Regions from separate parts of the Homo sapiens genome. Here region 1 is linked to region 2. The links are contacts of gene promoters, found by promoter capture Hi-C in blood cells and fetal thymus (Javierre and others, 2016). All regions are on one chromosome and are shown on one strand. Each heading gives the region's core, a stretch centred on a gene start or on the middle of the fragment in contact. The rest is flanking DNA. Distances are from core to core; before and after follow the strand shown. Region 1 holds the start of C5orf34-AS1 (C5orf34 antisense RNA 1). Region 2 holds the start of NIPBL (NIPBL cohesin loading factor).

Region 1 (6,515 bases), core at 1,230-3,729, 6.6 Mb after region 2:
CTTCTCTGACATAACTGACATATTATAAATTCCTCCCTATGACTCGCAGAAGCCATTTTCTGCAATGGCCAAACTTTGTCACACCCCATCCCCCTTATAGCAAATACCACTAACTTTGGGGCCTTCAGAGTATACATAACAGTACTTTTCTCCTTCCTGAATTCCACAAACATATAATTAGCTGGTCACTTTAATTATACGCTATCATGTATTGTTTGCTAATAATCTCTTAGACATTATTTCTGTCAAAACAAATAAGAGCTGATACATTCTCTAAGTAAGTGTCATCTGTTTTAACTTTCCCTCTTCCCCACCAACCTTACACATTATATGCAAAAACCCAAGGTCAAAACACGGTCCAAATTCCAGAAACCGCCTTTATTATGCTTTACCAGTAAGTCTTCTTCACTGAACTGTAGTTGCTGTAAACTTAATATATTTAATTTCTTTAATGGAAAAATATCAAAAGCAGATGCCAAATCTGATGCAACTAACTGACAAAGGAAACACAAATCTTGCTTACTTTCACTGAAACTTTTTATAGCCATCAGATGTCTGCACTTAAAATGTTTAGTTCCTATGCCCATTACGAATAAAACAAAATTCTGTATTTCAACATGTTTCAAGCCTCAGAAGTTCCCAGACATCCTTTTCTGAGTCTGGTGTGATGCAATAATTTTTCAAATGTCATTTAAAAAAATGGGCCAGGCTGCAGGGAAAGGACCATGTCACACTCTCAGCATTCAAGCCTCAAAGGCTCCGGGGCACGAAAGGCTCTTACAACCGGTTAAGGACGGCAATGGGCTCCTTCGGCACGACTCCCGGAACCCCACCCTGGGCCAGAAAAAGGCCAGGGGCGCGGAGCGTAGGCGGAGGGCTGGGGTTCTAGGGATCTAGAAAAAGCGCGAAGCCGGAGGGCGGCGCCAGGGCTCCTCGCAGACCCCAGGGCCGCGGGACGGTGCCGGCTCGTGGGTCACACGCACCCAGGAGGCTCCTGGCTCCCGCGTGGCGGCTGTTCCAGCACGCCCTCCGACCCGCAACCGGACCCTCCAGACATCAGACTCAGTGGTCCCCCACCTCCGGTCTCCCACCTCAGGACGCAGTTCCGCGGCGTCCACCCGGCCCCCTCCCCTCAGTCCCACGCAGCGGCTCAGCCATACCCACCCCGGCTTCTCTGAGTTCAATCCAGCAGCAGCTCGAGCAGCGGCTCCGCCCCTCGGTCGGAGCCATAGAGACGTCGGCTGCCGGCCAGAGTGGCCTCAGACCGCAGCGTCGGCCGAGAGGACGCCGGGATACTGGCCAGCTCCAAGTCGAAAGGAAGCGACGCATGAGTTGTTTGGTGCGGTGGGTAGATACCTCGAGTTTCTCCTCGCCCACCGTAGGCCCCGACCCCTAAAAAGGAAACTTTTGGGACGTCAGAGTGAGAGGAGAAAAGTGTCTTTTTAGTTTAGTTTTGTCAAACCTGAGGATTCGTTTTTCAGTTTAGCCGGAGCTGTGCCGCAAACGTAGCTGCCGACATCCCCACGACGCACCCAAGTGGTGGCCCGGAAGCTGGGGATAGAAAAGTGGCCTCCCCGAATGCCAGGCACACAGGCCTTACTACCAGAAGCTTGAGCTGGGAGCCTCGGCCGTCGCATCTCTAAGGTGCAGCGATACGGCCAACTTCCTTCCGCGAAGCCCTCAGGGTGGGCAACGGAGCTTTTCACCAGACTGAGGGACCGGGCGACCTGGCCGACCGGCGGCTCCTCACCGCCCCCTTGGGGATTTCTTGATAATTCTTTGCCACGATGCGGGCGGATGTTGTGGAGCTACTGTTTGTAGATCGCAGTAGCGTGACAGCACTTAATCATGACTACTAAATCCTCAGAAGTCGAAAAAGCAAGTCCATACAGAATAGTTTGACCCTAATTAAATTGCGCTTACAAGATACAGTTTGTTTACTGGGACTTTGGCTAGGTCCCATCCCGTCTCTGCCTCAGAGTGGTGGTTGCTCTTAGCACCAAGGAAATACCAGCTTGACATTTGACTCTAGGAAGCACAGGCCCAAAAGAAGAGGCCCAAGGAGGGACATTCTTCTTTCCCTTTCCTACCTACAGTTTCTCAAACCAAGTGTCAGATGGAAAGCAAGGGGTGGTATCATCGTAATTATACAGTTGACCATAGAAAATAAATTTCAATCTCAAAGTAAACTCCTAGGCCACCCCCAGAATCTTAGAGTTTCTCAATCATAGAACTCATTTCTTGTCACAGTCTTGGTTCTTAGCCAATGTAAAACACCCAACTGACAGGGAAAATTAAACACCTTTTAACTCCCACACACCTTAAATGAGAATTTAAAGTATCTTTCAGCAAATGTATTTATAATTTTGAGTGCTTTTAGCCATGTTAAGGACAAATTTTCTCCTTCTGAATGCAGTAATAATTTGGCATTACCCTTTTGGCAGTGTGGTACAAAGTCTTATAATCTAGGCTTTATGGAGCTATTGAGGAACAACATAGATGGCTTCATGCAAACCCAAACAATGTAATAGTAGTTCTTTTCTCTGTAGTCGGTCTACTGCCTGTAGATGTTTATTCCTTTTTTTTTTTTTTTTTTTTTTGAGACAGGGTCTCCCTCTGTCACCCAGGCTGGAGTGCAGTGGTGCAATCATAGCTCACTGCAGCCTTGACCTCCTGGGCTCAAGGGATTCTCCGGCCTCAGCCTCTGGAGTAGCTGGGACCACAGGCACATGCCATCGTGCAGGTAATTAAGTTTTTTGTAGAGATGGGCATCTCGCTATGTTGCCCAGGCTGGTGTTAAAGTCCTGGGCTCAAGTGTTCCCCCCTCCTTGGCTTCTCAAAGTGTTGGGATTACAGGCGTGAGCCACTGTGCCCAGCTTACTGATTCATTTATACAAACAGAGTGCTCTCAGTGTGCTACAGAATGACTATGGAGCTCAAGTTCTAGTGGAGGGTGTGAGCCACAAGGAAACAAGCTAGACAGATTGTAATAAGTACTATAAAGGAAGTAAATAGGGTGATGTAATAGACTTGGGAGATGCTAACTTTAGTCAGGTAGTAAGGAAGGCCCTTTTGAGGAAATGGTACTTGTTTGAGAATTGAAATGTGAAGGAATCCAGTGTCAGAGGAACTAAAAAAAAAAAAAGGCATTGTGCCCCTTTAACTTAGTGACATTATCATTCCTGATCTACACTCTTCTCCCCATTTTTCTCGTTTTCTCTGTTACTGCTTCCCGTTTATTTGAAGAGCCAGGTCTTTTATAGAAATCAGAAAATTAGAACATTTCTGGTTGTGTTTGGTGTAATCTTGACGTCATTATAGATATTTGGTTTTGTTCTTTCTTAATAGACAAGCTTATAATAAATAGCACTTTTGGTGAGCTCATTTCTGTTAAACACTTTGCAGCATAAATCTTTTCCTGTGTTCAAAAGAAAGTATCTGGTTCATGAGACAGTTTAGATACAGTCTTTGCCAAAGTGCCTGATTTTTAGTTTACAATGTTGCTTGTCTCCGTTTTTGTTTTTGAGATGTAGTTCTTGTCTCATAGCTCTACTGAAAAATACTTGGAGTAAAGGGACCAAATAGCAAGTGAACAAATGCACAATTCTGCATATTAAAAAAAAAGAGGCTGGGTGCAGTGGCTCACACCTGTAATTCCAGCATTTTGGGAAACGGAGGCAGGAGGATAGCTTGAAGCCAGGAGTTCAAGACCAGCCTGGGCAAGATAGGGAGATTCCTGTCTCTACAAAAAAAATTTTTAAAAATTAGCCAGGCATGGTGGTACATGTCTGTGGTTCCAGCTACTCAGAAGGCTGAGGTGGGAAGATCCCTTGAGCCCACAAGTTCAAGGCTGCAGTGAGCTATGATTGCACCACTGCATTGCAGCCTGGGTGACAAAGCAAGACCGTATCTCAAACAGTAAAAACAAACAAAATGAAAAAACCTGAAGATTAATAGTGAATGCTCCACAAGATAAAAACAGCAACAACTTTATAATGTTACAAATTTTTTTTCTTGTTAATCTGAAATAAGAATTAAATGTGAAACGTTCAAAACTTCGAAATATTTATTATTAAGATATAAATACATATTTTAAAAATGTACAAGTTAAAAATACCTTCAAAGTTAAATGTCAGTTCTTTCACAATCATTGTGCCGGGGTAATACGTACAATATCTTGGCTTACTAGTAATTTTATACCAGTCACTTGAAACAACATCCTTAAACTTTAATAATATGTTGTAATAATTCCATTTTTCACTTTTTAGAGTTTGATAGAAGACAGTCAATATCGTGAAGGATTTCAGAGGTTTTTTTCAATGCTATTGATACTCTATTTTCATTAACTTCTCCTAGCAAGGTTTCTGAAGATCCTGGTTTATAATGATCAAAAGACTGTTGTTCATTTTTCTTGTTAGAAATCTGGTTTAGGATACCACTATTTTCTAGTAGCACTAAGTTGCTTAGTTAAGGAGGTTTTCCCCACATTTTTCACTATATAAATATCTTTATATACAGAAAGCATAGGCTTCATATTAAAATATTTCTCAGCTGGAAGACCTCTTGGATTCATAATACAGTTGGAACTGCAAGGCTTATCAAGTCTGCTCCTTGTAGATGAAGAAACTAATTACAGTATAAGGGAGGGGGAAAGAGAATAGAGTGTGTATGTGTGTGTTTGGGTGGAGGTTTGGTGGTAAGGAGGAAATGAAAATTTCAGTAACATTTCTTTAAGTGAAGAAATGACACGGGAATTAAAGAGTAGGATGACAGGATTATAAGGAATCTGTGTAGTGTCTATTTTTAATTTAAAAAGATTTAGAGTGAAAAACCTGTTCGCTATAGAACTAACTTATTTGAATAAGATTAGAGAAAAACCACAAGAGAAAACAAATTTAGATGAATTGGGTGAGAATGTACAGAATGAAATATTTCATTTAAAAAAAGAGGTCTTAAACAGTTATAATTTTATTATATAATTATGTAAGTGAAAAAGTCTCCAAAGGAGACCTTAACCCTAATTAACTGTTCTTTGCCCAATTTAAACTCAAAGAAAAGTATAAATGTTAACATGCTATACCTTCTATGGACAAGATCCATCTTAAATTACAATCTTAGGTATTTGCTGACTCAATAAAGGTTAGCAATATATTAAGTATAGATTAATATTCACAAAGTACTGAAGTCATGAATTAAGCCTAGAATGAAAGAGAGTAATTATGTAGGACAGTGCATTCTGTTTAAAGGATACAGTTAAACTTCTGTATCTTTTCAAGTTCAGAAGCAACAGACCTGTCCAAGGAAAAAGAAAAAATTCATTCAGTTGTCTGATTCTTTTGTATTCATGATATTTCAAATAAGCATACCTGACTTTTTTTTTCATTAGAATTTTAAACGGAAGAACGCAGAAGAATTCTCTTTATGTTACCTTTATTTAGCAACAAATCAACTTGACTCAACTGATACTTACTGAGTGCCTTTAAAGGTAAGTGAATAAAAGTCTACCCCTTGTAAATCCACTTCAAGGAATTTGTAATCAAATATTGATGTTTGAGGATAATGGGCCTTCCTGTTACTTCTTAGTACTAACCTAGCTTACACTCTACTTTCCTCCCTAAAGTTTACGCAAACTTTACAAACCTATTAAAATCCCATTCCTTCTGTGAAAGAACTGCTCTCTCCTTCCTTGAATTCCTATAGCATATTAATTAATCACATACTTATTTGTAATATCTTCTCTTGAACTATTTAACTTCCTGCTCTTCCTACCTAGATTGTTTCTCTCAGAAGAAAGGATTTTTTACTTTTCTGTACTTGTGCATATATTAAGACCTCATTTATATGGAACTCTTTGGGAATGGATGGTATGGGAGATCCAAGTTTTTAAATAGTTGAATTACGTGTCAAAACAACTATTTTTTATTAAATTCTTTCTGGAATAGACTACCTACTTATTTCATTGTTTTTTTAAGCACAGAGGGTTAACATGATGAACATTAGCTCTTATACCATGTTCTATAGAAAGATAGTGGGACAACTGGTATGGAGTAGAGGGCTAATATATACGTCTCCAGCAGAACCCCTAAGTGTGTGTTCTTTATCCTTTTTCTTATCAAGTTAGAATGAAATATGAGCAATGGCATACAACTACAAACTGTAACTTGACTAGCTCTCTGCAAAATTAATGAAGACATTAGTCTAAAATATTCAAGTCACCAGAAAAATCTTCACAGTTCGTAGTAGGTTGTGTGACTTGTCTGCTTTATTGGCTTTACTACAACAGATCACATGCACCTCCCTGTCAGCTTGTACTCTTTCCCTTGTACTCCAGCCTATGGATGGAGAATGAAAAGAAATATTTCATAATTTTAAACACCTGTGGCAAAGAACTTGGATACAACTTACCCCAACAACCAGCTGATTGTTCATTATTGCAAAATATCTTTTTTTTTTTAAACCCAACGCATTTTTCTGGATGTAAGAAACAATACAACCTTTATTGTTATTGCTCTCAT
Region 2 (6,389 bases), core at 1,479-3,978:
CTAGTTTACCAGTAACATTTAAGAAAGCAGACAAGAAGATAATTGTGCTTCTATTAGCGAATTGAAATAATGGTATTTTGAAACTGAGTGAAAAACACATTCTGAGTCATCTGTATTAACTTAAAGCTGTTCTGAAGATTAATGGGAAAAATAATAATGAATAGACGATTGGATTTACTAAACAATGTTTGATTAATTGTATTAATGGTTATAAAATACCTATCAAGGCTGTCTTTTCTTGTCCAAAAATTCAATACATGAAATATGAAAATTTGTAATACCATAGCCAAAGCCTTATTGCATAGCTTCTAGCTTACTGATATATTTACTTATTTTAATTTAAAAAGCCTGTTTTTCCAGCCACTAGGAAATAAGATTTCTCACGTTTTATAGTACTCAAAAATCATGATTAAGTATATCTAATGCTAACCTAAGTGTAAGCAAACAGCAAACTAAATGGTGAATTAAAATATCCACACCAAGCCTGACCTCAGCTTTCATTGAACCTTTTCTTCAGAAGAAAACTAAAAATAAATTTCACTAGCATTTGCTTTGCTTGACAGCATAATTGAGTAGCAACCAAAGTAGCCACATGTGGTCCTTTATGTAAGGCCTTCTAGCCTCAGAAACACACACCTTTTGAATTAGCGTGCCTGGTACCCATTTGTGCCCAATAAATACTTGCTGAATGAACTTTTCCAATAGTGCTGGATTTGCTCTGAGCCAACCAAATTCTCACTTTTAATGTATTTTGAAAGACAGAGGACGACAAGATGAAGAATGCAGTTTGAGACTCAGAAGAGCAAACATAATCGGCCCAGTATGGATATGATCATTTGATGCACTGTCCTCGGGCATGCTCATTTACAGAAGCCTAAAAACAAATTTTATCCCTCATTTGTGGGTTTCTGGTGTTGTGGAGGGCTTTCCAATGTTTAGAAGCAATATATTTTTATAGAATTCTGTAATAAACGTGTTTTAAATCTTTTATAAAGCTCTCTGTAGCATATAAGTACATATTAAAGACAGAAATGGGGGAGCATCAAGGCCCTTATAATCGCATTCATTCCTTAACCACATACTACGCATCTACTGTGTGGCATTCTAGGCGGGGGCCGTAACACCAGTGCAGAAAAACACAACCTCTTGTCCTCTTAGAGCTTACATTGCACTGGGGAAGGAGAGATAAGAAGATAAACAAGTATGGATATGTAGACTGTCCAAAGGATAAAATGAGAAGGGGGCTAGGGAACTTTCAGTTTAAAAGTAGCCGCGGAAGCACCGAGTGACACGAGCAAAATCCTGAAGGTGAAGGAGCAAGCCCTGTGGACGACGCTCAGGGAAGAGTCCTACTCGCAAGGATGCCAGGGCAGGCCCGCCCCCACCCTCAACGGCGCGCGGGGACTTCTGCCGCAGTCAAGGCTTTGGCTCACTCCCCTCAAGACGGGAAGCCATTCGCAGGGCCTAGAGAAAAGGAGTGACAGGATCTTGGCCCCCTGAGTGGCCTGAGGCAAAAGGAATAATCTAAGCAAGTTTTCCTACTTACTTTTAGCGCACTGGTACACACACAAATACACAATACAATTCATATAACACGAATTTCGTCCCGGTTGAGTAAAATTCCGCTTACCTACTGCACTTTTTACCGAAAATAGCCCCTTTTTAATTTACACAAACTTAATAGAGAACGGTGGAACAATGGTTACTTCTTGTTTTACAATTTAAAAACTACAACAACCATAGTACTGTACGTATAATCACATATTGTATTCCAGCCTTGTCCAGCGCCTCAGTTTTCCGAACCTAAAGAGGAAAACGATGTTTGAAATCAGCTGGCCGCAGGCCCGCGGGTCGCCCGCAGTCACCGGTGGCTGAGTCGGGGCCGGCGGTTCTCCCCGCGCGCTCGGCTCCACCCACACCTAGAGGGGGGCGCCCGGGCAGCCGCGGGCGAGCTTCTCGCTCGCGCAGCGTCGCCTACAGGCCTTTATCCTGACCGTTAGAGAAGAACCCAAACCTCTGCCGACAAAAAGCAAAAGCAGCGGAGACCGCGTATTTCCAGAAATAAACGCATCATCACAAACACGATTCCAATTCAATCCAGCCGACAGTCGTCTTCACCTCCAAAGGTTGCGTTCTTATTCGCAGAAATAACACGCAGTCGGGCGTAAGGTCCCGGCTCTCAAAAGGCAAGGTGTACGATCCATCCATCCACCCGGCTGCAGGGACACCATTTAAAACGGGCATCATCGCCATCGAATCGCGGGCGTCCTCTGTGGGGCCGCCCGGAGATCGGCTCCCTAAAGCTAACGACGACCTGGGACAGCCAGCGCGGCCTCCAGCCGCCGCCGTCGGCGACCTGAGAGCCCGTCCGGGCCTGAGTGCCCCCCACGCTCACGACCACCACCGAACTCGGGCCCCGCTCCTGTCGGCCTCCAGGAAAATAAAGACAGAGGAGAGCCGGCCCGCCTGTGTCGCAGGGCAAACGTCGCTCTGAAGCATCGACAATACTGGCAACATCCACAGCCGCCCTGAGGGGACGGGCGTAGAGGAGAGCTGCCGCCTCCCGGCTGCTGGGCCCGGGTGCCGCGCGGCGCGGCCGAGGACGCGAGCCCAAGTGGCGGCAGCGGCGGCTGCGGCGGTGGCGGAAGTGGAGTGGGGAAGAGGGGGTGGTTGTTAGTGTTTGGCGCCGGCGGAGGGAGTCATTCCTGCAGCTGCACTTCCGGTCGGCATTTTGTTCTGAGAGGGAGAGACGGAACGAGAGAGAGACACACACAGGGCTCCTTCCCCCCGCCCTCCCCCCCCTCCCTCCGTCGGTACCGACTCACCCGACACCACCAAGCCGCAGGGAGGGACGCCCCCGCCGACAGGAGAATTGGTTCCCGGGCCCGCGGCGATGCCCCCCCGGTAGCTCGGGCCCGTGGTCGGGTGTTTGTGAGTGTTTCTATGTGGGAGAAGGAGGAGGAGGAGGAAGAAGAAGCAACGATTTGTCTTCTCGGCTGGTCTCCCCCCGGCTCTACATGTTCCCCGCACTGAGGAGACGGAAGAGGAGCCGTAGCCACCCCCCCTCCCGGCCCGGATTATAGTCTCTCGCCACAGCGGCCTCGGCCTCCCCTTGGATTCAGACGCCGATTCGCCCAGGTAAATTCCTGCTCTTTATTTCGGCGGCGGCGGCGGCGGCGCCGGCGCCAGGTCCTCAGCGTCTCTCCTCCTCGCTCCCCTCCCCGCCGTTTCCTTAGCGGCCCCAGGTCTCTTCCACAGGCGAGTCTAGAGTTCGCTCCTCTCTGGTGGCAGCCGCCTTGGGTAGCGGTGGTTTTGTACCCTCTCCCGGCCGGCTCCGGTGGCGGGGACTGGGCTCCTGCTGGGCGGCCGGGGAGGCGTAGGCCCGGCGGAGAGTGCAGGCCGCGGGCCAGCGGAATCTACTTGAGCTCGGGGATTAGGAGAGCTCCGGGCTGAGCGGAGCGACTGCTGGTCGGTGACAGGCCTCGCCCGGGAGTGGAGCCGTAGCTAGTGGGGAGGCGGAAACAATACAACTAACAGCAAATGTGCCCTGATCGTCCCCATATTTACAACTTTCCCGGTCCGGGAGTGGGGAACGTCCCAGTGAAACAAACAACCTCCCTTCTTCCCCCTGTGACCCCATGAAGGGAGGAAGTAGTTTCAGTTAGTGAGACAAACGTAAATACTCAGACGCGGATCCAGTGGTAATTCTTTCTCTTTCTAAAACTTGTTTGGACGTTGGAAAGTTCATAAAGACTCATTTTCTTTTTTAAAGAATTAAATCGTCCACATGAATATTTAATACAGAAAAACATACTGTGGTAGACACTGCACATCTCCCCCTCCCCAAGAGCTTTTATCTTGTTGTTTTGACAGTGTGTTGTTGCACATGGACTTTTTATTCAAAGACAAGTATAAAGTACTTGACAGGTTTACTCTGCCACTTTCTATTTGTATGCGTTATGTAAGGGCAGTTTTAAGCGACTATACGTAAAACACTCAGGTACTTCCTGACCAAAACGTGTAGGAGCATACAAAGAATTTTAAGTGTTCTGAGAATTGTGCTGAGATACGGGTAAAACCACTTTTCTTTTCTTTTTCCAAAAAAGAAATTAAGTTATACTTAAAATCCTTGGGAGGTTAAAAAATTGTAGAAGGTGCCATCCTTTTATGTCAGGGCAGTTCTTCTTGAGGTCCCAGGATTGTCATTGGCTGTTTGTGCCATGATGTTTGACTGTGTAATGAGAGAGGTGTCATTTTAATAGGTTAAATGTATCTGTAAATGCTGGAGAAAAATATCAGTTCTAACTTGACAAGTTCTAGTTCATGAGTAAGTTAAGTGTTTCGAGCTTGTTTATGGAGGCGTTCATAATGTAGGTTGGTATAAGGGGGAAACACCAATTTAAAATTCCTCAGTCAGGCAAATTGCTAGAAAAGTGTACCTGGGTTACACGTTTTGATATTTTGTTTCATATTCGCTGAAGGAAAACTTTCATTGGTTAAAATGAAGCAGCACTGCTCAGCGAAATCCCTTGTTTTACTAGTGTTTGTTACATTGGTTCATATTTTTTGTGTCATTAAATTATTGTCACTGTAGAATAAGTTATTTTGTGGAGGTTATTTTTGAGTTTAGCGTCCTGATTACAATAAATTGTTTCACATTTCCTGCAAACGTACGGATAAATGTTTAAAAGAATGAAGTTAATATAGCTGTCACGTACTAGGCATGTTTTTAATGCTATAAATCCGTGTAGTAGTCAGTAGCGTGTCCGTGATTTGTATTGGTCAGGGAGCAGTTTGAATTTTAAAAAGCCTGAAGCTCCTGCTGAGCCCCAATCCCGGCCTCCCTCCCTCCCACTAATCTCCCATTCCTGTCTTTGTGCTGCCTGCTCCTGTTAGACACTGTTTGCTACGGGGCCTCAGGCCTACTGCGGGTGGGGGGGTGTGCGAGTGGGGGGCATGCCAGGGAGGGAATGCAGACGGGAGGAATACTTCACATCTTAAGAAAGCAGAGGGTTTGTTTTTTTGGGGATGGAGGTGGTAAGGGCTTCATTATAAATGTTTAAAAGGCCTTCATATATTCCTGTGATTGTCTCTACAACTTTTATTTCAAGGGATAAACATATTTTTACTAAAGATAATAGAGGAGTTGTGCTTGCTTAATTTTCACGAACTGAAGCAACTTATTTTTAGAGGTTGTCTTATGCAGATGTTTGAATAAGTGTGTTAGAGATGGGTTTATGTGATTGATTCTTTTTTTTCCTGAGACTTTGGAATTGTTATAGTGAATTAGTTCTTCCCAACTTATTTTCCCAATTCTACATATTTAGTAATTTGTGAGTAATATAGGTTGTGTGATAGCTTTCATTATGATAGCATAAACATTTCTTTAAATTTAAAAATATGTTTTGTTTGGTCCAAACCAATTAAATACGTCATTTTTAAAGGAGAAAACATTGTGTAAAATTCAAATTGTAAAATTTAAACTTGAACTTTAAATCTCTGATAACCTAGTTGGAGAGAATAGTTTGTTTCCCTAAAGAGTGTAGAGTGTTCTGCTTCCCCTCTGTTGGTTGGAATATTCACTAGTGGCTAATCATCTATTTCCATTAAAAATTAAAATTCAGTGAAAGGAGAAATCAGAAGTGTTCCAGTAACCTTATAATCCTAGTTATATTATTTGGAGAAATATTTTCTCATACACCTAAAGGAAATTTCAACAATGTCGCTTATTGTTTCTCTTAACTCTGAAGAGTTGTCAATAACTTTTGTTACTTGAAAAGAGATTTCAAGTAAATAATGAAAGTAAATCAGAGTTGAACATTAAATAGATAATTTTCAATGTTTGAGAAGTGTATATAGGATGCTTCCTTTTTAAAGTTATTCAACAATTTGTTTACTAAAGTTATCTGAGAACATTTTTGAACCTGTTCTAGAGATCATTATAATATTTTCTGCTTTTAAGGAAAAGTTATACATTACTTGAAAAAAGAAAAACAGTCTACTTGAGATTCTTTTTAGGGATGTAAAGTGAAAGTTTTTACTATGGCAGTAAACTTGGTTCTTCATAGTAATCATTATTAAATTTCAAAAATATGAGCAAGCTATACCAATACAAAATTTTCTTTACTTGCAGCCGAAAAATGTATTTTCTAAGGCTTCTTCAACTAATTTCATATTTAATTTTTTGGTACCAATCCATCATCAAACTGTCATAGAAATATTTGAACATATCTGTGTTACATGTTTGAAATACCCCATTGTGGTATTTTTACTTTCTCAAAATAAGATGTAGTAATTAATAATATAAGAGTAAATAAAAACCAGGAGTTTGAGTTTTATTTAATTTCATTTAATCCTCCTTTCTGGTGCTTATTAGGAAAAGCATAATT

What was found. The method cuts DNA at HindIII sites, captures the fragments that hold promoters and counts their contacts. A CHiCAGO score of 5 or more calls a contact.
Region 1: a fragment that was not itself captured here is called in contact with the fragment with the promoter of NIPBL in region 2 in 1 of 17 cell types (total CD8 T cells); the score reaches 6.8 in total CD8 T cells.

The regions. Positions count from the first base shown.
Region 1 is chr5:43,482,658-43,489,172 of GRCh38, forward strand. C5orf34-AS1 (C5orf34 antisense RNA 1) reads left to right here and starts at 1,262. Exons shown (of 3, transcript XR_007058763.1): 1 at 1,262-1,344; 2 at 5,387-5,485. TMEM267 (transmembrane protein 267) reads right to left here and starts at 1,208. Exons shown (of 3, transcript NM_022483.5): 1 at 1,165-1,208. C5orf34 (chromosome 5 open reading frame 34) reads right to left here. Exons shown (of 13, transcript NM_198566.4): 12 at 5,252-5,292; 13 at 4,052-4,454. The coding sequence ends at 4,258. RefSeq lists a silencer at 1,063-1,293 and enhancers at 1,239-2,082, 1,348-1,537, 6,156-6,325. The HindIII fragment of the contact is 1,744 bases long and covers 1,608-3,351 here.
Region 2 is chr5:36,874,041-36,880,429 of GRCh38, forward strand. It overlaps NIPBL (NIPBL cohesin loading factor), which reads left to right and starts at 2,729. Exons shown (of 47, transcript NM_133433.4): 1 at 2,729-3,138. NIPBL-DT (NIPBL divergent transcript) reads right to left here and starts at 2,654. Exons shown (of 1, transcript NR_046262.1): 1 at 1-2,654. RefSeq lists an enhancer at 2,025-2,074 and silencers at 2,485-2,594, 3,235-3,354. The HindIII fragment of the contact is 9,072 bases long and covers 1-6,389 here.